Linked DNA regions of Homo sapiens: all the other regions are linked to region 1. The links are contacts of gene promoters, found by promoter capture Hi-C in blood cells and fetal thymus (Javierre and others, 2016). All regions are on one chromosome and are shown on one strand. The core of a region is centred on a gene start or on the middle of the fragment in contact, and the rest is flanking DNA. Distances in the headings are between cores, read along the strand shown.

Region 1 (4,260 bases), core at 559-3,058:
AAATTTCTTTGTACTTTTTGTCTTTGAAAAATATTTCACTAAATAAAGAGAACTGTGTTCAAAAATCACTTGTGATGTTATGTTACCAATTTAATATACAATTAGGTGTATTAGTTTTAGTATGCATTCAATTTTAAGCTCACCTTTTTATTTTCTATTTTTTGAATATGTAAAACATGCACATGGATTAAAAGTCTCACTGTAAAGAAAGTTTTCACTTTCATCCCTATCCCCTCACCCCTTTGTAGTTAACCATTTTTGTGGTCTCTGATTTAACCTTCCAGAGTTGTTTTGTTGTTGTTGTTGCTGTTGTTTTGAGACAGAGTCTCACTCTTGTTGCCTAGGCTGGAGTGTAATGGCCCCATCTCGGCTCACCGCAACCTCTGTCTCCCGGGTTCAGACAATTCTCCTGCCTCAGCCTCCCGAGTAGCTGGGATTACAGGCATGCGCCACCATGCCTGGCTAATTTTTTTGTATTTTTGTAGAGACGGGGTTTCTCCATGTTGGTCAGGCTGGTCTCGAACTCCTGACCTCAGATGATCCGCCCACCTCGGCCTCCCAAAGTGCTGGGATTACAGGCGTGAACCACTGCGCCCGGCTTTTTTTGTTTTTGAGACAGAGCCTTGCTTTGTTGCCCAGGCTGGAGTGGTGGCACGATCTCGGCTCACTGCACCCTCCGCCTCCGAGGCTCAAGAGATTCTCCTGCCTCAACCTCCCCAGGAGCTGGGATTACAGGCGCGCGCCACCACGCCTGGCTAATTTTTTTTTTTTTTTTTTTTTTTTGGTAGAGACGGGGTTTCACCATGTTGGCCCGGCTGTTCTCGAACTCTTGGCCTCAAGTGATCTGCCAGCATCGGCCTCCCAAAGTTCTGGGATTACAGATGTGAGCCACCGCGCCCGGGCCCAGAGGTTTTTAAAATGCAAAAACAAATACATATACTTTTGTTTCCCTTCCTTCATTAAACTTCGCTTTTTTTTAAAAAAGAAAAAAACCCGTATACGTTGGAGGTCACTTTATATTGGTACTGTGAAATCATCCTCCTGTTTTATAAGCCGCGTGTTTACTTATAAGCACTCCACGGGTTAGTCAACTCATTGGAGCAAGCGTTTTGAAGTGTGGCAGATTGACAGTCCACCTGAAATCAGAATAACTGAGTTCAAATCCTGACTACACCATTTAACTCGTCGTTTCATCTTGAGCAAGTCCTTTACCATTTTTGTGTCTCAGTTTTCTCATCTGTAAAATGAGGCTGTTGTGGAAAAGACAGTAGACAGCTCACTGGGCTGTCATGAGCAACACATGAATTCACACATTTAAAGTGCTTATGACAGTGCATGGCGCATACGAAGCCCTCAAGTTAAATAAAAATCGGGGTAGGTGGGAGCGATGGAGATTTATAACAGCTTCCGGTAAATGTCGAGGCACAGTATTTCCAGAGCTTGTGCGAAGTAGGGAACCCAACAGCTCTCATGGCCTCGAAAGAAGGGGGATCCTGTGTCCGGGAAGCTCGGCCGCAGTCCTGCAATGTCTAGGGCAGCGGTGAGAGCGCTGTGGCTGGCTCAACGCAGCCCGACACCAGGGAAGACGCTCTGGCCCTCAGTTTCCCGGCAGCAAAGGAGCGCGAGGTGGTCTCCACTTTCAGCCTACTCGGTCCGGGGTTGCGAACTGTAAGGTCTGAGTTGCTGCGGCGCAGGCAGCGGAGACCAAGCAGGGATCTTAACAGGGTTTAGCGCCACGCGGGCCAGGGCCGAGGCCGGAGCTGGGAGGGGCGCGCCCGGGAAGGGGCGGAGCTGCGGCGGTGGCGCCAAATCGCAAATATGGCGCCGGAGCGGCTGCGGAGCCGGGCGCTCTCCGCCTTCAAGTTGCGGGGCTTGCTGCTCCGTGGGTGAGTGGGCTCGGGCAGCTTGAAGGGCGAGAGGGAAGAGCTGGGGCCCGTCTGCCTGGTGCGGCAGCGGGACGCACCGCGGCGGCTCCCCGCGCGCCGAGAGGGGGCTTGACCTTAAATTTCAGAGTTCTAAGAAGCGGTCGGGCGCGGTGGCTCACGCTTGTAATCCCAGCACTTTGGGAGGTCGAGGCGGGCGGATCACGAGGTCAGGAGATCGAGACCATCCTGGCCAACATGGTGAAGCCCCGTCTCTACTAAAAATACAAAAATTAGCTGGGCGTGGTGGCGCGCGCTTGTAGTCCCAGTTAGTTGGGAGGCTGAGGCAGGAGAATCGCTTGAACCCGGGAGGAGGAGGTTGCGGTGAGCCGATATCGTGCCACTCTACTCCATCCTGGCGACAGAGAGAGACTCCATTAAAAAAAAGTTCTAAGAAGCGAGGTGGATCTTGAGGCTGCCGTGCCTTCTTTGGTTTCCCCGACCCATGCGAGGAGTTTAATGTTTCTTCTAGGCGGGCCGAGGCTCTTCTGCACATGTCAAACTGAGCCCGAGAAGCTGCAACCTATCTATGGCAGCCGGTTATCAACATTGTGACCTGGACAGCTCTCAGGCTCCCGGGAAGGTTGCTGAGACATAAGATGAGAGACCCGAGAAAGCCCACTTGCACGTCTGCAGTTGCCAATTTATGTGAAAGTCAGGTTTCCTGGGCATATCCGTGTTTTTGAGGACCTATAGAACATATGAACCTTCCCAAGATTTCTCTCATTAAATCTGCTCCGTGTTTTAGAGTTCTATATGTACGTGTGTGTGTGTGTGTGTGTGTGTGTGTGTGTGTGTGGTGTGTGTGTATATATATATATGTATTTTTTTTTTTTTGAGTCATGGTCTCACTCTCGCCCAAGCTGGAGGGCAGTGATGCGAACTTGACTTACTGCAGCCTCAACCTCCTGGGCTGAAGTAGCTGGGACTGCAGGCATGGGCCACCATACCTGGCTGATTTTTTGTTGTTGTATGTTTTTTAGAGACGGGGTCTGGCTATGTTGCCCAGGCTGGTCTTGAACTCCTGGGCTCAAGTAGTCCTCGCGCCGTGGCCTCCCAGAATGCTGGAATTACAGGCGTGAACCACTGCGCCTGACCTAGAACACAATATTTTATACATATTGAAATACCTGCTGGATTGGATATACCTCTCTGTATCAGTTTTTATTGCTTTTGTGTGTGTAGATTTTTGGTTGGTTTTGTGAGTTTTATGGGACTTTTAACTGTGCTTTGGGAGATGCCTTGGGAGAAAATAATGAATTTTGTTCAATTGGTCCTTGACATTTTGAAAGCATGAGGAACTGATGAATTAACTTTCTTTTCGCTTAGAATTTGACCTAATATTAAGCTTTTGTTCATTAATTATTTCAGTCATAAGTATACTTAAATCTGTTAGCTGCAAAGCACCGTGCTGGGGTAAGGGGGTGCAATAGAGAGCAAGAGCTTTGTAGGGGGCAGATAATGTATTCTATTGCTGCGTGACAAATTACCCCACAATTTAAAGGCTAAAACAGTACACATTATCTCAAATTTTCTGTGGGTTAGGAATTCAGGTGTGGCTTAGTTGGGTCCTCAACTTCAGGGTCTTTTCACAAGGTTGCAGTCAAGATGGATCATCTCAAATGTTGTCCAGACAGCATTCGCTTCAAGCTCATTCAGTTGTTGGCAGGATTCAGTTCCTGATTGCCTGGCAGGCTGTTGGCTGGAGGCTATCCTCAGTCCCTTGCCATGTGTGCCCCCAACATGGCTTCATCAAGAGAGAGAGTCTTCTAGTAACTCTGAGGCAACCTAATCAAGGAGGTGACATCTTGTTATTTTTAAATTTTTTTTACTTTTAAATTTTACTTTCAAAATTATAATACAGTAAGTTATTCTATCCCTTTTGCTATATTCTATTTTTAGAAACAAGTTACTAGGTCCAGCCCACACTTAAGGGCAGGGGATTACATAGGTGTAACTACCAGGAGTAATGGATTATTAGGGGCCATCTTAGAAGTCTGTCTACCATGGATATTAAATGACTATTTTACAGCTATTTAATCTCAATTGTGAAAGGGATTCCAGGAAAGAAGGGCTATGAGAGTTTATGATAAGGTGTATAAACTGCCCTAGAGTCAAGGAAGAACTTCACTGCAGAAGTGGTTTGGGCTGACTTAAAGAATGAGCAGGACTTGGCTGGGCGCAGTGGCTCACGCCTGTAATCCCAGCACTTTGGGAGGCTGAGGTGGGCGGATCACGAGGTCAGGAATTCGAGACCGGCCTGACCAACATGATGAAACCCTGTCTCTACTAAAAATACAAAAAAAAAAACCAACCAGCCAGACGTGGTGATGTGCAC
Region 2 (4,260 bases), core at 1,148-3,647, 120 kb before region 1:
TTTGCAGATATTGATAGCAGCATTATTTATAATAGCCAAGAAATGGAAACAATCCATATGTCATTCAATTAATGAATAAACAAAATGTGATATATCCATATAATGGAATATTATTCAGACTTGCAAAGAACAGAAGTACTTATATGTGCTTTTAACATGGATGAATCTTGAAAAACATTAAGCTAAGTGAAAGAAGCCAAACCTAAAATGCTGTGTATGATTACATTTGTATGAAATGTCCAAAATAGGCAAAACCATAGAGACAGAAAATAGATTAGTAATTGCCAGGGGCTGGGTACAGAGGAGAAAATGGGGAGTGGCTGCTAATGAATATAGGGTTTCTTTTCTGGGATGATGAAAATATTCTGGAATTAAATAGTATTGATGGTCATGGTCACACAGCATTATGAATATACAAAAAGCCACTGAATTGTATACTTTAAAGGGGTGAATTTTATGGCATGTGAATTATACCCCAATTTAAAAATATTTGAAATCTAACCATAAGGGACATGTTATTCATATATGCTCTTCATGTTCATGATTCAGCCAATCTATTTTAATTTTGGAAGTCTTCAAACTTTAAATGGATTTCTCTAAATTATCTTTTCTGGAGTGAAGTTAGAATTATTGATGTGAGAGGATATTTCTTCTCTGACATGTTTTATTTACGTAGGTCATTTAAAAGCTTGCTCTGTAAATAGGAGTATTAAAAATACATTTTTAATTAAAATAGTAACTTTTTATAATGGTGAAGTAAAAATGTATTAGTATTTAAGATATGTGATTGACCGGCCGGGTTCGGTGGCTCATGCCTGTAGTTCCAGCACTCTGGGAGGCCGAGGTGGGTGGATCATGAGGTCAGGAGTTCAAGACCAGCCTGACCAAGATGGTGAAACCCCATCTCTACTAAAGATACAAAAATTTAGCCGGGCATGGTGGCGGGCGCTGGTAATTGCAGCTACTCGGGAGGCTGAGGCAGAGAATTGCTTGAACCCGGGAGGCGGAGGTTGCAGTGAGCTGAGATTGCGCCATTGCACTCCAGCCAGAACAACAGAGCGAAACTCCATCTCAAAAAAAAAAAAAAAAAAAAAAATATATATATATATATATATATATACACATATCATTGACCCTGTCATGCGGCATGTGATTTTCATATCTTGCTCTGGAGAAAGTCCATACTTTGGTATTGAAACATTATGCATTGTTATTCTAGGAGAACCCATCCCCCCACGGACCTTGACTGAAGCTGGCACAATGGCACTTTGCTACAGTGCTGCTTGGGATGCACGAGTTATCACTAGTGCTTGGTGGGTGTACCATCATCAGGTAATAAGGGCTCTTGTCCTTTTTCTTAATTTACTAAGAGCTACTGTGTGCCAAATTTTGAGAGTATAGAAGTAAATAAAGCAGACAAGGCTCAATAGAGCTAACTCTTTTTGGTAGAGGAAAATATGTACATAATGTCAGGTAATAAGTGCCATAAAATAGTGTTTTTAAAAGCATGGAAGGGGATAGAGAGTGATAGGGGATACCGTTTTGGATGAAGTATTGGGGGAACCTTTCTAGGAAGGTAGGATTTGAGCAGAGAGGTAAATGAAGAGAGAGTGATCCACACAATTATACAGGATAAAGAGTGTTCCAGTTATTATTGATTATTATTGGCATACTGACCTAAAAGGCCTTTCTTCTGTTCATCTTTGTTGGAATATTCTGAATTCTCTTGGGCACTTCCAGAAAAGTAGGCATATCCTGTTTGTTTTTTTTTTTAAATTCACTTGTTTTTATTAATTGCCCTTCTTTGTGGTTAATGATGTTGTTGGGGTTTTTTTGCATTTTTTTTTTTCTTTATAGAGATGAGGTTTCACCATGTTGGCCAAGCTGGTCTCGAATTCCTGACCTTAAGTGGTCCTCTTGCTTCAGCCTCCCAAAATGCTGAGATTACAGGCATGAGCCATGGTGCCTGGCCAGTGCTGTTGAGTTTGGTGATACTTCATTCTATATTTGACCTCACATTGCTATTGATTTCTTATCATACTTTTGAGAATTATAATTGATGATGATGTACTTTTATAAGTTCCTAAAGCTGTACAGTAGGATAAAAAGAATTCAGTTTCATTATACTCCCTTAGATTTAGTTTCATTTTTATATCTTTTTATATTATATGCTGTGCTGTGATATTGTCATATAGGGGGATTATAAATTGCTACCTCAGTGCTGTTATAAAAGTGGTTTTAATTCTTTCATTAAGAAATTTTTTAGAATGAAATTTAGTGTTTTTAATCCCTTGCTGGTTTTTTGTGTTTGTTTGTTCGTTTTGAGATGGAGTCTTGCTCTGTTGTCCAGGCTGGAGTGTAGTGGTGCAATCTTAGCTCACTGCAGCCTCCGCCTCCTGGGTTCAAGCGATTCTCCTGCCTCTGCCTCCTGAGTAGCTGGGACTACAGGAGTGTCCCACCATACCTGGCTACTTTTTCTATTTTTGTAGAGATGGGGTTTTGCCATGTTGGCCAGGCCAGTCTCAAACTCCTGGCCTCAAGTGATCCTCCTGCTTCCGCCTCCCAAAATGCTGGGATTACAGGCATGAGCTAGCACACTTGGCCCCTTGCTATTTTAATAACTATGACTAATAAAGATACTCTCAAGATTTGGGGGTTTCACAGATGTATAAATTTTTTTTTTTTATGAGATGGAATGTTGCTCTGTCACCCAGGCTAGAATGCAATGGCGTGATCTCGGCTCACTGCAACCTCTGCCTCCTGGGTTCAAGCAATTCTCTGCTTCAACCTCCCGAGTAGCTGGGATTATAGGCACCCACCACCACGCCTGGCTAATTTTAGTAGAGACAGGGTTTCACCATCTTAGCCAGGCTGGTCTTGAACTCCTGACCTCACAATCCACCTGCCTTGGCCTCCCAGAGTGCTGGGATTACAGGTGTGAGCCACTGTACCTGGCCCCAAAATTTTTTTAAATTATGGGATAAGTTTACTCACTTTCTGTTTTGCCAAAATAGGATATATTTTTAAAAATCTGCTATTTCATATAGACAAAGGTTACTTTTGCCTCATGCCTGTAATCCCAGCACTTTGGAAGGCCAAGGTGGGCAGATCATGAAGTCAGGAGTTCAAGGCCAGCCTGGCCAATATGGTGAAACCCCGTCTCTACTAAAAAATACAAAAATTAGCCGGGCGTGGTGGTGCGCACCTGTAATCCCAGGTACCTGGGAGGCTGAGGCAGGAGAATCTCTGGAACCTGGGAGGTGGAGATTGCAGTGAGCCAAGATCAAGCCACTGCACTCCAGCCTGGGTGACAGTGTGAGACTCTGTCTCAAAAAAAAAAAAAAGGCAAAACTTTATTATCAAAAACAGTATCTTAGACAAGGATTTTATTTAATAAATAGAGCTTTATTTTAGTAAACATAGCTTTATGATAAGCTCATTAACCTATCCTTAGTTTTCTCATTACATCTCATGCTGGAAGAGATGAGTGGACCAGTTCTGGCTGTCGTCCATGGCATTTGAAAATTATTGCCGGGCATAGTGGCTCACGCCTGTAATCCCAGCACTTTGGGAGGCCGAGGCAGGCGGATCATGAGGTTAGGAGTTCAAGACCAGCCTGGCCAACATAGTGAAACCCCGTCTCTACTAAAAATACAAAAATCAGCTGGGCATGGTGGTGCGTGCCTGTAGTCCCAGCTACTCAGGAGGCTGAGGCAGGAGAATCACTTCAACCAAGGAGGTGGAGGTTACAGTGAGCCGAGATTGTGCCACTGCACTTCAGCTTGGGCAACAGAGTGAGACTTCATCTCAAAAAAAAAAAAAAAGAAAGAAAATTATTGATGTAGTGGATTCTTTGTTTTTTTCTTTGTTACTTCCAAAGGCTTATCTGTCATTAAAGGGGTATCTTTCCCTTTAGTATTGAGAATTTGTACGAAATTATAAACTTTTCAGAAGACAGTGTGGCTTACTTGACTCTGACTTTACTTTCTCCTCAAGTGGAAAAAGAAAACTAGAGTATTTTTTTAAATAAGAATATAATGTATTATTGTGTTCTTCAGGTATCTAAAACAGCACCAACTGGAGAATATTTGACAACAGGAAGCTTCATGATAAGAGGTAATGTCTTGACAGGAAAAATATCACTAGACTTGTCAATGGATTATGGAGACAGGTTTGAGACAGTTTACAAATACTCTTAGAACAAAAACAAATTACTCGGATTTCCTATGTGAAGTCTGCTATGAAGTAAAGAAATTTTTG
Region 3 (4,260 bases), core at 594-3,093, 94 kb before region 1:
GATAGGATTTCCTAAAGTATTTGTGGACAGTTAAATGCTAATTATATACATCTGTAGTTATTCTACATTTTCTTGAAATTTGGGAGGTTAATACCAAGTATTCATTTCATGATGTAAAGAAACTGAACAGTGAAGTGGCTTGATTGCTTAAACTATTGACTTGGTAAGTCTACTGTATATAACATCTAATATATATATATTATAGGCCAGCTACAAGGGGTTTAAATATTTAGGATTGTGTCTTGAAAACTAAGTATTGGAGTGGATTTTCTTCTGCTTTCATTGATACTTGTCAGAAAAAAATATTAGACCAAAATGTAAAATATAAGTAATAATTCTCATGACTCAGCTTAATCATTTCTATTCATTTGTAGACCTTCAGGTTTGATCTTAATTTTTTCCTTGTAATCTGATTCAGTTCTGTACCATTTTAATTTCCACCTTTAGTAATTAATTACCAATATAGCACGTTAGAGTATCTTAACCTATAATACCAGAAGCGCATTTTAGGCTTACCACTAAAGACTCTAACCCACTTTTCCTCTGTCTCTTAACAGAATGGAAAATGATGTCATCATTATTTCCATTCCTTCATGAGCTATAAAACCTATTAATTAAAAAAAAACTTTTTAATTGACTGGACAGCACCTGCCTGTATTCAGCATGACCACTTGCTCCAGCCCCTACACTGAAGCATTAAGGTCAAAGTACTGAACAGTTGTTGGTCCCTCCACACTTTGTTTTTCCAGCTTCGTCATAATGTGAATATTAATGTTTAAAAAAAAAAACCTTTATTATATTGTATTTACAACACTAGGTTACATAACTATAGACTACTCTTGCCATTAAAAAAAAAAAAATCTATAATGTTTTCAAAAAATGACTTCAGCATTTTGATGATGGTAAGACTATAATGTTTCTACAGATACATATCCTGAAGTTACTGAAAAGAAAATGTAGCAACCATTCTTCAGGGTAAAAAGCCCAACCATTACTTTACTTTAATAGAGGACAGCTACTGGTGTTAAATACATTTATTGTAAACTTTAGACACAAAAATAGGTTCTCTAGGCCATTCACATGCACATTAAAACCAACAGGTGCAAACTACAACAATGCATATAATTATACAAATGATGCCACTCTGTGATGTTTACAGGATTGCTGTCCATGCAAGGTGATCATAGGCATTATTTATGAAGCCTTAAGATCCAGAAGTGTTGTTACTACCAAACCTCTGATTAACACTGTGAAGTAAGTGTTTTGGAAGGCAGTTCCATGAGTTGGCTAACATTTCTTTAAAGCAAATGACTGCTTCTAAGCTTAGCCTGAAAGTGGACAAGGAAAGAGAAAAGTAATTTCACTTTACTGTTTGGAAGTACATTCACTTGAAAAACTACATAAAACATCCCTCTTTCTTTCTTCAAAGATTTTCATAGGAACTGGTTATAGCAATGAAGTTTTATTGCCCTTAAATAATCCATAAACCTAGTTTTTCGAGAGTGCTAAGTCTTAGGAAACACAATTTTAAATAATCTAAGTGCCAAGTACAAAGTTACTTACCGTACAAGAGATTTTGGTTGAACTGAAAATATTAGTATTTCATTACTGTGTGCCTGAAAAATAAATAGGAAGAACACATTTAAAAGCAAATGCTTTGCAAGTAAGTTTCAGTAATAATGTGAAGGTAGTATACTTACAGCTCTGTGATGGACAAGCAAGTTGTTGGCACATCCACCAAAAACAATTACTTCTCCTTCATCGCTGGCACAAGCTGTGTGCCATAACCTGCATTTAAAACAAAAACGAGTTTGAAGCCACCCAGAACACCAGTTGGCCATTTTATACTACAGAATAGAGCTATGAAATAAAGACTAGCGATCTTAAGGTAGTTCAGACCAAAACATCATGGCGAGAAGTAAAATCTTAAGGGAAAGTAGCAAAAGCAGATCAATCAATATCTATTTTATCTGGATATTATTTTCTCTCTCTGGTCGTTCTCATTTATGCAATGAGGAGTTTGAACTGAACGATCTGTTCTCTAGGTCTTTGTTAGCAATAAAAATCGTATGGGAGCTGAGTAGTATATGCCTTCTTCTTCCATAGGTAGGGCCAACTGGCCTTACACAGAACGTCTGAGGGATGGTGAAAGCCCTGCTTGAGTAAACTATAAAGTCTCAGAAAGCCTGGTAGTTTTATGGAGAGATCATTTGTGCAAATGAAGTCTTACTTGCATGACTATACTTGGTTTAGATACTTGGGGAAAAAATGCAGGCTTTGAACATGAATTTTGACTGTATCATTTCCTTTAGCATTTTGTTCTGAGATTAACAAGAGAAAATTATCAGTGTTTAATAAGCTTTTTTTGGATGATTTGATTTCTTCATCTTTGTTATACAGTGCTACTGCAAGTCTAATTGACAGTTCTTGTTTTTTCCCCATGTATTTTTTTTTTTTTTAAGAGACAGAGTCTTGCTCTATCACCCAGGCTGGAGTGCAGTGGTGCAATCTCAGCTCACTACATCCTCTGCCTCCTGAATAGCTGGGACTACAGGCATATGCTACCACACCTAGCTAATTTTTCTATTATTTGTAGAGATGGGGTTTTGCCAAGTTGCCCAAGCTGGTCTTGAATGCCTGGGTTAAAGCACTCTGCCTGCCTCAGCCTCCAGAAGTGCTGGGATTACAGCTGTAATCCTGTAATCCCACTGTACCTCGCCTCCCATGTGATTAAGGTTTAAACATTTTACCCATTCCAGCACCTCTACCCCCTTTTTTTTTTTTTTTTGAGACAGAGTTTCACTCTTGTTGCCCAAGCTGGAGTGCAAAGGCACGATCTCAGCTCACTGCAACCTCTGCCTTCCTGGTTCAGGCAATTGTCCTGCCTCAGCCTCTCAAGTAGCTGGGATTATACAGGCATACGCCACCACGCCCAGCTAATTTTGCATTTTTACTAGAGACGGGGTTTCACCATGTTGGCCAGGCTGGAACTCCTGACCTCAGGTGATCCACCTGCCTCAGCCTCCTAAAGTGCTGGGATTACCGGCATGAGCCACCACGCCTGGCCGACCCTCATTTTTAATAAACTTAGATGCAGTTCAACTCATTGAAGTGAAAAGCTTGATTGTATATTTTAACTATGTGTCAATTTTATAACAGAAGGAAGAAGCAAAAATAAAAATCCAGCCCTACTCTTCATGCACAGATGACGGAAAGGAGATCATTCGATACTAGGATAACATTGGTTTTCTTTTCTTTGAGAAGTATTTCAAACCTTAGTGAATGCTGAGATTTTTATAAATAAGAATGCTGGATATAATGCAGCCAAAACCTCAATTCTTATGTCTTATGCATATTCAGTATATGAATTGCTTTTAAATACCTTGGTTTTTCGGTATATGGATGATTAAATTGTATCCATTCATTTTTACTGATGCAGTAAGTCCAGGCATCACCTGATTCAAGCAAAGAAATGAAGTATGTTAGTCTGTCAATATGACATTGACATTTAAAGGGCACAGCTTTGGCAAGAAAGGTAATAGATCATGAGCAGATACAGAGAGTATATTTTCTTTTTTTTCCCCCCCCTGCAATTAGCCAAGTAAGCCCTTTGCATGTTGTAGCCCTTCAGCAGGGCTCTTAAGTGCTCCAGGTTCTTTATTGAACAGAAGTATGCCATATAGTACAATTACAGCTATGTTACAGGATCAAAATTAATTTCAAACCTTCCAACCAACCCTATAAGCCGTCTCATCAGTCTCTAATAGACTCATTTTCAGCTATTAGATATGGATGATATATGATGATTTCATTATCATATTTTTCAAGGACTTACTTAGTGGCTGTTTATCAGTGGTAAATCCTCCAAAGAGAAAAAGATGATCTGAAGAAACTGGTGTTAGTGAGTGCCAAGATCGACCAACTGGGCATATGCCTTGTGGAATTCTGAAAATAATAGCTAAGTTACAATATCTGCATTTAGAAGCAGCTACTGTATTTTTAAGTTTTCTTTTAAAATTTATATGTACATGTTATGAAAAAAGAGACCTTAAGTTTAAAAAGGCTTCTTGGTATAAACTACATGCTTTATACTGAAATATTTTCTTTGACGTTAGAATCAACTTCAGACCTTTTCCTTTCAACAAACACTGAGCACATGCTATGTACTAGGCACATAGTTACAGGAACTGGAAACACAAAAATAAAATTCATTCCTTAAGGACCTAGTAATTATGTTTATTTAATTTCATAGTTAAAGAA

What was found. The method cuts DNA at HindIII sites, captures the fragments that hold promoters and counts their contacts. A CHiCAGO score of 5 or more calls a contact.
Region 2: a contact is called between a fragment that was not itself captured here and the fragment with the promoter of POLE2 in region 1, in 2 of 17 cell types (erythroblasts and megakaryocytes). The highest score is 6.3, in erythroblasts.
Region 3: a contact is called between a fragment that was not itself captured here and the fragment with the promoter of POLE2 in region 1, in 2 of 17 cell types (megakaryocytes and erythroblasts). The highest score is 10.1, in megakaryocytes.

Annotation. Positions count from the first base shown.
Region 1 is chr14:49,685,762-49,690,021 of GRCh38, reverse strand. POLE2 (DNA polymerase epsilon 2, accessory subunit) reads left to right here and starts at 1,808. Exons shown (of 19, transcript NM_002692.4): 1 at 1,808-1,886. The coding sequence starts at 1,819. RefSeq lists a silencer at 1,696-1,745 and enhancers at 1,050-1,809, 1,810-2,571. The HindIII fragment of the contact is 3,892 bases long and covers 1-3,272 here.
Region 2 is chr14:49,803,093-49,807,352 of GRCh38, reverse strand. It overlaps NEMF (nuclear export mediator factor), which reads left to right. Exons shown (of 33, transcript NM_004713.6): 19 at 1,220-1,332; 20 at 4,059-4,116. Among named protein-coding and RNA genes, the nearest start is that of KLHDC2, 37 kb to the right of the region's middle. The HindIII fragment of the contact is 3,414 bases long and covers 691-4,104 here.
Region 3 is chr14:49,779,898-49,784,157 of GRCh38, reverse strand. It overlaps KLHDC2 (kelch domain containing 2), which reads right to left. Exons shown (of 13, transcript NM_014315.3): 9 at 3,836-3,945; 10 at 3,383-3,455; 11 at 1,701-1,788; 12 at 1,564-1,616; 13 at 1-1,328. The coding sequence ends at 1,205. NEMF (nuclear export mediator factor) reads left to right here. Exons shown (of 33, transcript NM_004713.6): 33 at 1-2,075. Among named protein-coding and RNA genes, the nearest start is that of KLHDC2, 14 kb to the right of the region's middle. The HindIII fragment of the contact is 1,037 bases long and covers 1,325-2,361 here.